Regions from separate parts of the Homo sapiens genome. Here regions 1, 2 and 4 are each linked to region 3. The links are contacts of gene promoters, found by promoter capture Hi-C in blood cells and fetal thymus (Javierre and others, 2016). All regions are on one chromosome and are shown on one strand. Each heading gives the region's core, a stretch centred on a gene start or on the middle of the fragment in contact. The rest is flanking DNA. Distances are from core to core; before and after follow the strand shown.

Region 1 (2,833 bases), core at 307-2,806, 520 kb before region 3:
TGCTTGAGCCCTGGAGTTAGAGACCAGCCTGGGCAACATAGGAAGACCCCCATTGCTACAAAAAATGTTTCTTTAAGTAGCTGGGTGTAGGGGTCCACACCTGTAATCCCAGCTACTTTGGAGGCTGAAGTGAGAGGATCATATGAGCCCAGGAGTTGGCAGTTGCAGTGAGCTATGAGCATGCCACTGTACTCTACCCTGGATGACAGAGCAAGACAGAAAGAGACCCCGAATGACAGATGTCTCAAAAACAACAAAGAAAATAAGTTTTGCTATATTGATTACAACTGACACAATGTGGACCTGTCCCAAGTGAGAATATGTATACATGTATAGGCAGGGAGACACTGGTGGTACTGCAGGGCAGACAGGAAAGCAAATAAAGATCACTTAAGGAGGAGAAATATTGAAGAACTCCTGTGTCATCAAGCAACTATGAACACATCATCATCTCCACATTTACGAGTTGCACAAAGTCCCGATCATTCCCTCTGGCACCCCTACATCCACATGGGTACACATCCTTGTTCTGTTATATTAAGTCAGGGTTCATCTTGTTTCCACCAAAGAGAAAACGGTTAGGAAGGCAAAGCGTACGGCATGGAATAATAATTGCCAAGCAAAAGCCAAAGTTCAGCCTTGAAGCCTCTTTTTATCCATTCTTCTCAAGCATGGCAAAAATATCCTCAAAGGACAACCAGTTTAAACGATAAGGGTTTTATCAGTAAGAGGCAAGTCAATAGAATTTAAAGATAAACACATAATCAATTCTAATTTCTGCAGAACAATAACTACACTATAATAATTTTGTACCAGACATGGTAGTCAATCTGCTTGCCAAGTCCATTGTACAGAACCAGACTGCTCCACTCCAGTTCCGAGGTTCTCCTGGACTCTGGACATTGGCCACTTGCCCTGTATCCTGCTTGAGCAGCCCCAGCAATTCTCATGTGTGATGGTTAATTTTATGTGTCAACTTGACTGGGCCAGGAGGTGCCCAGATATTTGGTCACACATTCTGGGTGTTTTTGTGAGGGCTTTTGGATGAGATAAGCATTTTAATTGGTACAGTAGGCCAGACTGCCCTCCTGAATCTAAGTGGGCCTCATCCAAGTAAGTTGAAGGCTTGAATAGAACAAAAAGACTGATCCACCACCAAGTAGGAAAAGGAAAAATACTCTCCAGCAGACTGCCTTTGAACTAGAACCACACCATCAACTCTCCTGGGTCTTGAATCTGCCAGCCCACTGTGTGAATTTGGACTTGCTGGCTCCCATAATCACATGAGCAAATTCTTCGTAACAAATCTCTTTCTATATATACACATCCTATTGGTTCTGTCTCTCCAGAGAACCTTGACTGGTACATCATGTCATTCTTGCCTACAGCCTGTTACCTCATCTCCTAATATCGGGGATGGTCTCAGGGACCCCCAAGTTCAGGAAGACCCATGGCCACAGCATTGCTTCTCCATTCTTCTACAATCTCTCTGCCCTTTCCAAGGAGAGTTCACTCAGCAGTTCCATTCAGTCTCCTTGAAGATATTCTTCCCAACCCATGACTGAGCATCAAGATTGACTTGTTTTGAGAAGCTGTAGCTAGCTCAATGATAAGCCTTGGATTTGCTTTCTTGCCTTCCTGTGTTGTTCACTTCCTTTTCACTTTTGCTTCTGCGGCAGCACACTGCTCACAACTCATAACGCATGAACTTTGCCTTTGGCTCTGTTTTCTGAGAAACCTAGGCAAAGCCTTTTTTCTTTTCTTTTTTTTTTTTTGAGACGGAGTCTCGCGCTGTTGCCCAGGCTGGAGTGCAGTGACGCGATCTCGGCTCACTACAAGCTCTGCCTCCCAGGTTCATGCCATTCTCCTGCCTCAGCCTCCTGAGCAGCTGGGACTACAGGCGCCTGCCACCACACCCAGCTAATTTTTGTTGTATTTTTTAGTAGAGACAGGGTTTCACCATCTTAGCCAGGATCGTCTCAATCTTCTGACCTCGTGATCCATCTACCTCGGCCTCCCAAAGTGCTGGGATTACAGGCGTGAGCCACCGCGCCCGGCCAAGCCTTTTTCTTTTTAAACTCACTTGCCTGATGAGGAAATAGCTGAGTGCTTTTTTATTGTGGAGACAGGGTCTCATTATGTTGCTCAGGCTCCAGTGATCCTCCCACCTCAGCCTCCCAAAGTGCTGGGAATACAAGTGCATGTCCCCATGCCTGGCTTGAGCTCTTTCTTGATAGGTGTGCTCACCAATTGGCCCAGGTGTGGACACCTGCCTCAAGAGATCTGATGTATAGGCTGCTCTTTCACCTATTGCTTGAGGGTTTCTCCTTGAACAGAGATGAGCTGAGCCAAATATCTTCCTTCTCACTTAATTAAAACTTGATAAAGAAAAAGGTATTCAATGGACAATGGCTGTTGGGCAAAGAAATGATGAAGGAAGTTTGTGTGTGTGCACGTAAGTGTATGAGAGAGACAGGGAGAGAGAGAGAACTTTCCAGGTTCAATTTCAGTTCATGAAGCTGAAGATTTTCTTGCCCCTATTTCCTGTATCCTTTCAGTGAATGTCCCTTTTCACTTCTAATTGCTGATCAACCTGAACTTAACTCTTTTATAAGTAACCTGCTTTTCCTATCTGGATGGTTTTGTGATATTTTATGTATCTGCAACTCAAAAGTTTTCCCAGGATATGTCACATTGCAATTTTCTTTTCATTAAATTCAACTAAAATGTGGTTGATTTCTTTTGAGCTGCATCCTCAGATTATTTTCCCCTCAGGTTCCAGAGGTTTTATTTTCAATTATAATTTTGATTGTTGCTCCTGTTCAAATTGATC
Region 2 (2,900 bases), core at 16-2,515, 630 kb before region 3:
GACTCATGGCTTTCAAATGTCTAATATTTCCATTATTCCATTCTTCCCAGCCTGGTGCAGGTCCTACAACCTCACACTGTGATGACCCCACCACCACCACCGTTGCTCACACCATCCCATCTGCCAGAAATGCTTTTCGGACTTTGCTGGGCTTGTCCTTGCAGAGTGCCTCTTGTGTGCCCTGCCTTGTGCCAGGCAGGTACTTCAGACTCCTGGGATGACCTTCCTTCCCAACCCACCCCCGCGATGGCTGTCTTCTCAGAACTTCCCTTACATTATCATGTACTCCATTCATCTGACATTGAGATATACTGTCTTTCACCAGTGGTTGTTAAGATGTGTACATTTCTGGCTCCTCCCATTAATTTTAAGTGTTCTGGGATCAAGGAGTATATCACATATGCTTTCTTGCTTGCTTTTTTTTTTGTTTTTAATCCTTTTAACAGGGGCTCAGTCAACATTGGCTGGTTTAATTTGACTGATAATGTTAAATTGCCAACAAAGCAAATGCAGGTAAATAGTGCTCTTGAATGTGGACAAACGGATTCCTTCCCCAAACTGTGCTGAATCAATTTCCAGACGGCTCACCCACAAAGTCCTAACCAAAAGCTTGGTATTACAGCAAGCCGCCCAAGCCGGTGGAATTAATTAGCCTGCACCTACGTGCCAACATCATTCTACCAGTCAATACTCTTGATGGTCTGTGATATAAAAAGGATAGTGTCTGTCCTAGAGGTGCTATGAAGAATGTGAATTGGTAGCTTTCTGTCTCTAGATTGAACAGTGGTGACCATTCATTCATTTGTTCAACAAACATCTATTTAGCATCTGGTAAGCTCCAGGTACTGTGCTAGGCACTGGGGATATAATATCAAAGGTGAGAGTCAAAGTCTCTTTTTTGTGGGGAGATGGAATAAATAAGTAAACAACTAAATTAAATTATTGCGGAGTGTGGTAAGAACAAGGGAAGACATAAACCTATGCTATATTAGAGGGAAAAGAGGCTTCTTGAAGAAGGGGTAACTTATGAAACTGATCAAAACTAGATCATCCGACACTGGTACATACACATCCATCACACCCATATAAGTGACGGAGAGGCAGGTGATGTTAAAGGAAAATCTGGCCAGACGTGGTGGCTCACGCCTGTAATCCCAGCACTTTGGGAGGCGAAGGTGGGCAGATCGCTTGAGCCCAGGCATTTGAGGCCAAGCTGGGTAACATGGCGAAACCCCGTGTCTACCAAAAAAATATAAAAATTAGCTGGGCATGGTGGCATGTGCCTGTAGTCCCAGCTACTTGGGAGGCTGAGGTGGGAGGATTGCTTGGGCCCAGGAGGTCAAGGCTGCAGTGAGCCGTGATTGTGCCACTGCACTCCAGCCTGGATGACAAAGATAGACCCTGTATCAAAAAAAGAAAAAAAGAAAAGGAAAATCCACAGTTTGTGCCTTGGAATAACTGGAATTCAAAGCTAGTTCAGCAAATGGCAGTGTCAGCAAAGGGTCTAGTCAAGTTGACTTTGGCTTTAAAAGCAGACAGAGAAGTTTGGTGAAAGGGTGATGTGGAGGTGACTGAGTCAAAGGCTGGAGTGTGGCAAAGAAGTGCATTCCAGGGGTATGATGGAGAGAAAAGCAAAGCTACCGTCTCTTCTACAAGAGGACAGTCAGAACAAACACAACACAGTCTCACATCCAGGGGAAACGTGAATGAAATGGCTTCAGAAAGACCCAGACACCCAGAAGTGCCAGCACCAGGTGACAGAGGGAGGGGACCCATCCAGAACACACCTTCTCCCTGTGGCAGAACTAGCGAAACCAAATAGGGCAACACAGAAAGGCGACCTGGTGTGTGTGGGTTCAGAGCACAACTTCCCCAAGCCTCCTCCAGGGGGTTAACTGGAAGTCCTACCCAGATTTTGCAAGAAGCTTTGTCATGCAAATATTCTCCAAGACATCAGTTCAGGCACTCACCTCAAATGCCCTCCCTTCTCCCTCGGTCATTTCTTCCTTTCCAGTGAGCAGGTCACAAGGGCAGGCGCAGGAGATGTGATTGAGCTGTGCTGGGAAATGCCTCGGCCCCACCCCACTCCTACTACCCCCTGTGAGGAGGAGGCACAGGCGGGCACTGCCCTCGGAACACTAAAGCTTTGTTTCCTGGAGGTTCTGAAATCAGCCTCCTCACGTACCTCACCCAACACCAAACGTTCTGTCTCCACTTCCTCCTCCACCAAGGACTTTGGGGGGCTTGAAGGAGAATGAGGGAGAGCGGCAGAAAGGATGGCTAGCTAGTAAAGCCCCACATGCCTGCTCAGGCCTGTTCAAGCCCAGTGAGGTATATGTGGGTTCAGAACTGATTACACTTCCCCATCTTACAGATGAGAAAATGGGCTTAGAGAAACTGAAGAATTCGACCCGGGTCACATGGTGGGTAGATGCTGAACAGGCTTTGAACTCTGGTAATTCCAAGGGCACAAGCTGTGTATTTTTTCCTGTAACATCACCTGTCTCCTTGCCAGCTGGGCTGGAGAGATGGCTCTCTGTTGAAGAAAGAGAAGACTCAGATTCAAGTTCAGGGTCAGCCCTTAATTAGAGTGTGGGTTTCCTGTGGGAAAATGGGGGTTGGCCCCATGTACAAGTCTCCGATGAGGTCATACGCCGTAAGTCTGTTCCATGGGCTCTGTAGAAAAAACACAGCTGATGAAAAAAATAACAAACCATCACATTGTTATTCATTTATTCATTCACTCATTCAATGAAAGGTTTATTGAGAGGCTTCTAGGTGTCAGGCCCAGGGCAGGGAGAGATAATAAGGATCTGATCCTTCAGCCTAGAAGTGAAAGGCACATTCTTAAGAAATCTATCCAACCCTTCATTTTACAGAGGTAGAAAGTGAAGCCCAGA
Region 3 (2,876 bases), core at 1-2,500:
GCAGCTTGGGGAACCCTAGGTTTTCACTATGGGACCAAATAAACTCAGAATACTTTTGAGAACTTCAATCACATGAAATAATTATTTCAGAGAAGGATCCTTGTGGAAAGACCGTAACAGGAAGAGCATTCTGAGGTAACCTTTCCCAACTTTCTCCTCCACACATTCTTGCAGAGGAAATTAAGAGAGAGAAAAAAATTAAGAAATCCCAACTTAGTCCGGACTCTAGTAGTACATGTCAAGCACAGAACCCCTAATTTAAGACCCGCGTCCCGAGGCCAGGCTCCCTCGGGAAGGTAGCGAGTGCATCGCGATAAAATCTTTCCTCCCGCCTTCGGAGTCAAACGGCCCCGCAATCCAAACAGTTTAGAATCCAGCTTGTTCTTAATGCCACAGTCAAGAGAAGATCCATAACCCGCCTTGGTCATCTGCCCTTCTGTGTTCACAACCGTTCAGGGCACAAGTTCTTCGGTCTAACCGAATCTTTCCCTGCTGCGGGGTTAAGCCCAACCTTTCTTTCTGACCTTGGGGAGCCGGCAGCTCCCCGCCCGGTGCCCTCACAAAAGCCTTTGGGGGCTCCCTCTCCAAGATGAGACGTTTATCCCATCCCCCCACCCTCCTAAATTTAGGACAGGAAAGCTTTAGGGCCACCGTCTCTCTTCCGGGACCGATCACACTTCGTTCCAAATAGGAAAAGACAGGGGGGAAAAAAGATGGAGGGGCGGGAGACCTGGACCCCGGAGAGTCACCTTCCAGCTACCCACAGGAACCAAGCATCCGATCACTCGCGCATCCCTCTCCCCTCCTCCCCCGGCCCGCAGTGCACCCCACAGGGAGCCCCGCCGGGTCCACTCTTGCTCCGACCCCCATTTCGCGCGCCCCCTCGGCTCTATCTCCCAGATCCTCAGGCGACGAATGGAAAGGGGGTCCCTTCCCTCTCACCTGGGACGGAGGCGCTCGCTCATGGCAGCTGGCGGATGGAAGCTACGCGGCGCCGCTCCGCGAAGAGAGGGAACAGAGGGGGTTGTGTTTCGGCGGCCGCCACGCCCACCCCCTCGGGCCTTGGCTCTCGCAGCCGCTCGGGTGGACGCAGCCGGTGGCGAGTACCCCTCAGTCGGACCCGTACCACCACTACTTCCGGCGTCTGCTCCGCGCCCCCCCATGTCGCTGCCGCCGTGGTACCGCCCTCTCGCGGCTGCGCAGTGGCACCATCCCAACCGCACCGACTGGTAACCCCGCCCACGGGAAGAGGCGGGCTCGGAGCGGGAGGAGCGACTAGGAGCTTCTGGGAGAAAGGACCTCCCCTGGGGTGGCAGAAGCGCTCGCCTGTTCACAGCCAACGGAGGGTACGGTATAAAAGTCAAGCCAGGTTTCAAATAAATTCAATTATGTCATAATAATATCATACAAGTATTTGAGTTGAATCCGTGTAACATATTTTAAAACAGGCGGACCTATCCGGCAGTGGTGCAGACGGCCTGACGAGGTTCCTTGGCCGGGGGTTGGGCAGGGGCCTGGGGGGCTTCCCTGGGGGGCTTGTCGCCGGGGCCGCCTGGGCTTTCAGGTCTTCCGAGGTGAGGACGGTGCTCTGTGGGGAGCTTGCAAGGGCGGGTTTGTTTTCCGCGGCCCACGTTCTAAGTCTGGGGGAGACTCTCCTGAGCGGAGAGGGTAGGGAATCGGGTGCCGGGGCCGGCGGAGGGTCTTCCTGGAACCGCAGGAGGAAATCCTCGGTGGGGCTGCGGGAACGGCTGTCCCTGACCCAGGAGCTGCCGGGCCGACCCCATCCACTCCGCAGAATCAGAACAGCTGGCAGAATCAGAACAGCTTTCAGGGAAAGGAAGGGTGCGGGGAGGTGGGCAGGCTGGTAACGCAGCGGGAGGAGGGAAAGGCGGCTGGAGAGCGCCGGAGGTGAGGGTGAGGATTAGTGGAACTATTGAGGTCCTCCTTGAGCCCGGAGGCTGGGGAGGTCTTAACTCTCTGCTTTCCGGAACCTGTGTTTCTATTTGGTTCAGTATCGTGCCGCGTTTACTCACTGTGCATGCTGCCAAGTCACCTGTCTGATCGTGTCCTACACAGGCTGACATTCACGTTTCATTCTGCCACACTCGGGAACGGTGATCGGGGAAGCATGGGGATCCGGGAGAAGCACCCACAAAACTAGCATCCTCCTGGAGGAGCTCGGGTAAGAAAACAGACACCCACGTATAGACGTTATCGTGGGAATGTACCGGGATCTTTCAAGTAGGGTTGAGTGTGAGGTGGAGTGGAGGCAGAAACGTCTAGCAGGTGTCAAGCCCTTCCTAACGTTGTTAGCCGAAGGTCCATGGACTGGCTTCATTTGTGTGTATTATTGTAAACAAACAGTCTGTGGCTTTCATCCTGTTAGTGTGTACCTCCAAAGAAAGAAAGAATGATGGCTCACGCCTGTAATCCCAGCAGGCTGGGCGCGGTGGCTCACGCCTGTAGTCCCAGCACTTTGGGAGGCCGAGGCGGGTGGATCACCTGAGGTCAGGAGTTCAAGACCAGCCTGGCCAACATGGTGAAACCCCGTCTCTACTAAAAATACTAAAATTAGCTGGGCGTGGTGGCGCACGCCCTTAATCCCAGTAATCCCAGCCACGCGGGAGGCTGAGGCAGGAGAACCGTTTGAACCTGGGAGGCTGAGGTTGCTGTGAGCCGAGATCGCGCCACTGCACTCCAGCCTGAGTGATAGAGCAAGACTCCATCTCAAAAAAAAAAAGACCAAACAACAACAAAGTAAAAATGATTACTGTAATCTGTTGGCAGAAAACAGTTTTGTTTTGAAGGACTTCGTACAGGATAAGGTGGGTTGGTTGCTTTATTGAATGGATTGGTGAAGATTGTGTCTATTTTGT
Region 4 (2,734 bases), core at 222-2,721, 970 kb after region 3:
TTTCTCATAAGCAGGGCAGCTGCAGACAGTTGTGCAGGCTGCACACAACTGGCCGCAGTGGCCTGGATCCTAGCAGGAATTAATACTCAACAGAAACTGAGGCTCAGAGCTCTCAGGAGACTCATTCAAATTCTCCCAGCCAGACACTGAATTTGAATCTAAGACTTCCTGCCTCCAGGAAGAGTTTTCCTCCCACCCTATCATACTGCCTCCTCCAGGAAGACCACCTAGATTGATACCACTCAATCTGATGCTTCTTTCATTCTTGTCACCCTGGAACTTATTTGCTATGAGGGTTTGCACATACTAGCAGGCTCCTCTGGAGGTGTTGGGTTTTCAGGACAAAGCAATATTCTACTCCTCTTTGTGAATCACCATCGATGTTACTCCTGGAGGACTTTCCTGGCCTGTATCACCCCTTCCCCAGCCTGTATCAGACCCCCATGGCCTCCATCTGGTCCCACAATTCCAAACACTTCCTACACCTAGGGCCCAACCTCATCACTGCCTCCCTTACTATTCTGTGTGTCCCTTGAGATGGGAACAGGGACAGGATCTTATTTGTGCATCTTCACCACTTAGGTACCTAGAGGCACCTTAAAGACGTGCCCCATGCCTCTCCTCCCTTCTCCCACCCCAGCTCCCCACCCCATCCCGAGGCTTCCCACTGGAAAAGGTGTCCCCACCCGCTCTGGGCTGACATCAGCTGCCTTGCCTCCCAGAGTAGGGACGAGGCTCCTGGTAACTAGAGCCGACTGCACCCCGCCTTGCCACCCGTTGAGCCCGGGCAGAGGCAGCACCCAGGGCTGTCCTCCTTACAGCATCCACAGAAAAGCTTTGAAACCCTAGGCTAGGTGCAAATAAGACAGTAGCCTGAGCCCATGAGTTACCTGGCCATAGGCACAGAACAGAGATATCCATTATGAAAAAGAATGTCCTCGTGGTTTTGGCCTTCTAGTCAAGCGGCTCTCAACCACAAGTGGCATTGCCCTGCTTTCCCCCGGGGACATTTGGCAATGTCTAGAGACATTTTCGTTTCTCACAATTGTGAGGGTCTAGCATTAACCAAGTAGGGGCCTGGGATCCTCACAAGGCTCAGAAGAGCCTCAGCCCCTAAACAAAAAGTGAAAGTGACCCCATCCACAAAGGTCAACCATGTGGGGCGTGAGAACCCCTGTTCCAGTCTGCCTGGCCTTTCTTCGTGGCTTCTAGCTCAGCAGCAGGGAGAATGTTAAACCTGTCTACCTCTCAGGGGCTCACAGACTCTTTGGGGGCCAGGGGGAGAGTGAGTAACCAGTATCCCTTTAAACTCACCATCTTCAGTTTCTAAAAAAACACCAGTGGGCCGGGTACAGTGGCGCAAGCCTGTAATCCCAGTACTTTGGGAGGCCAAGGCAGGAGGATCGTTTGAGGCCAGGAGTTAGAGTCCAGCCTGGGCAACACAGGGGACCCCATTTCTAAAAAAAAGAGGAAAGAAAGAAAGAGAGAGAGAGAGAAAGAAAGAAAGAAAGAAGGAAAGAAAGGAAGAAAGGAAGAAAGAAAGAATATAAGACCACATGCTTGTGGTCCCAGCTACTTGGGAGGCTGAGGCAGGAGGACCACTTGAGCCCGAGAGGTCGAGGCTGCAGCGAGCAGCGATTGCACCTCTGCACTCCAGCCTAGGCAAGAGAGCAAGGCTCTGTCTCAAAAAAATAAATAAATAAAGCACCAACTCACCCCGCCACCCGACTCCCCATCCTTTCCCAGGTAAATGAGTTCAGTGCCAGGGACCAGAGTCCCGGCCTGCTGACAACCTTTAAGGTTTAATAAACAACTCCCTTCCGAGATGGTTTAAAGGCCAGCCCTGCCGGCAGCCAAAGGCAGGGGCCTCTTGGAGATTAAATGAGATGGTGGATATGAAAGCACTCCACCAGGTATGAAATCGCATACAAATATTCCCGATAATTTATGGACATTTCTCTCCGCCTGAGCTCCCAGGAGTCGCGCGGAAGGGGCTATTCCGTTTCCAGCCGCGGCCTCAGCGCCCCCGTGCGGCCGCCAGTGGACACAGCACCCAGGGCGGGCCTTGCCTGAGAGGTGCGGGTTGGAGCTTTGCGAATCACCCCATAGAAGCTTCGCTGCAACCCTGCGAGGCGGGAGAGAGGCGACAGCACACACACTCCCACCCCCAAAACATACACACACGTGCACGCACACACACACAGAAACCAGGAAACTAAGGCTCGGAAGATCACCGCTGGGCAGTGAAGGAGGTGCTATGGACCCCAGGGATGGGCCCTTGGGTGACGATGACCACAGCGGGCATAAGTGAGGCTGGAAGGGGAACTCCTGAAGGCCCTGAACTCCAGCCCAACTCCCCCTCCAGCCTCTTCTCCCCGACCCCCTGCCCCAGACCCTCCTTACCTCTGCCACACTGAACTTCCCACTCATTCTCAGAAACACCCCGCATTCTCCTGACCCTGGGCTGACGTCAGCTCCCTCCCTCCTTCTGTCTGGAAGTCCTTCTCCGGGCAAGCTGCTGCGCACCCCTCTCGGAGGCAGCAGACTGTGTCCCCTCCTCCACGAAGCCTTCCAGGACTCCCTCAGGAGGAATTAGACCCCTAGCCTCTGGGCATCCTCCACAGCTTATTATGGGATCCCAACAGTCATGAGTGTTTGGAGCAGGAACCGCATTCTGCTTATTCCCAAGCCCAGCCCGATGTTCACCAAGTGAACGGAATGGATTGAATGGGGG

The links. The method cuts DNA at HindIII sites, captures the fragments that hold promoters and counts their contacts. A CHiCAGO score of 5 or more calls a contact.
Region 1: a fragment that was not itself captured here is called in contact with the fragment with the promoter of VCF1 in region 3 in 6 of 17 cell types (fetal thymus, non-activated CD4 T cells, total CD4 T cells and 3 more); the score reaches 10.2 in fetal thymus.
Region 2: a fragment that was not itself captured here is called in contact with the fragment with the promoter of VCF1 in region 3 in 3 of 17 cell types (M2 macrophages, M1 macrophages and fetal thymus); the score reaches 6.1 in M2 macrophages.
Region 4: a fragment that was not itself captured here is called in contact with the fragment with the promoter of VCF1 in region 3 in 4 of 17 cell types (total B cells, activated CD4 T cells, endothelial precursors and 1 more); the score reaches 8.9 in total B cells.

The regions. Positions count from the first base shown.
Region 1 is chr17:72,707,179-72,710,011 of GRCh38, forward strand. The region is part of intron 7 of SLC39A11 (solute carrier family 39 member 11); the gene reads right to left. Among named protein-coding and RNA genes, the nearest start is that of LINC00511, 68 kb to the left of the region's middle. The HindIII fragment of the contact is 4,413 bases long and covers 1-2,833 here.
Region 2 is chr17:72,601,133-72,604,032 of GRCh38, forward strand. It overlaps LINC00511 (long intergenic non-protein coding RNA 511), which reads right to left. Exons shown (of 5, transcript NR_033876.1): 4 at 1,971-2,676. Among named protein-coding and RNA genes, the nearest start is that of LINC00673, 9.8 kb to the left of the region's middle. RefSeq lists an enhancer at 1,705-2,672. The HindIII fragment of the contact is 1,316 bases long and covers 608-1,923 here.
Region 3 is chr17:73,231,144-73,234,019 of GRCh38, forward strand. VCF1 (VCP nuclear cofactor family member 1) reads right to left here and starts at 1,251. Exons shown (of 4, transcript NM_001098832.2): 1 at 943-1,251. The coding sequence starts at 1,163. MTNAP1 (mitochondrial nucleoid associated protein 1) reads left to right here and starts at 1,290. Exons shown (of 6, transcript NM_001351264.2): 1 at 1,290-1,346; 2 at 2,077-2,182. RefSeq lists an enhancer at 1-744. The HindIII fragment of the contact is 5,222 bases long and covers 638-2,876 here.
Region 4 is chr17:74,197,770-74,200,503 of GRCh38, forward strand. No RefSeq gene overlaps it. Among named protein-coding and RNA genes, the nearest start is that of RPL38, 4.5 kb to the right of the region's middle. RefSeq lists a silencer at 2,141-2,190. The HindIII fragment of the contact is 1,277 bases long and covers 834-2,110 here.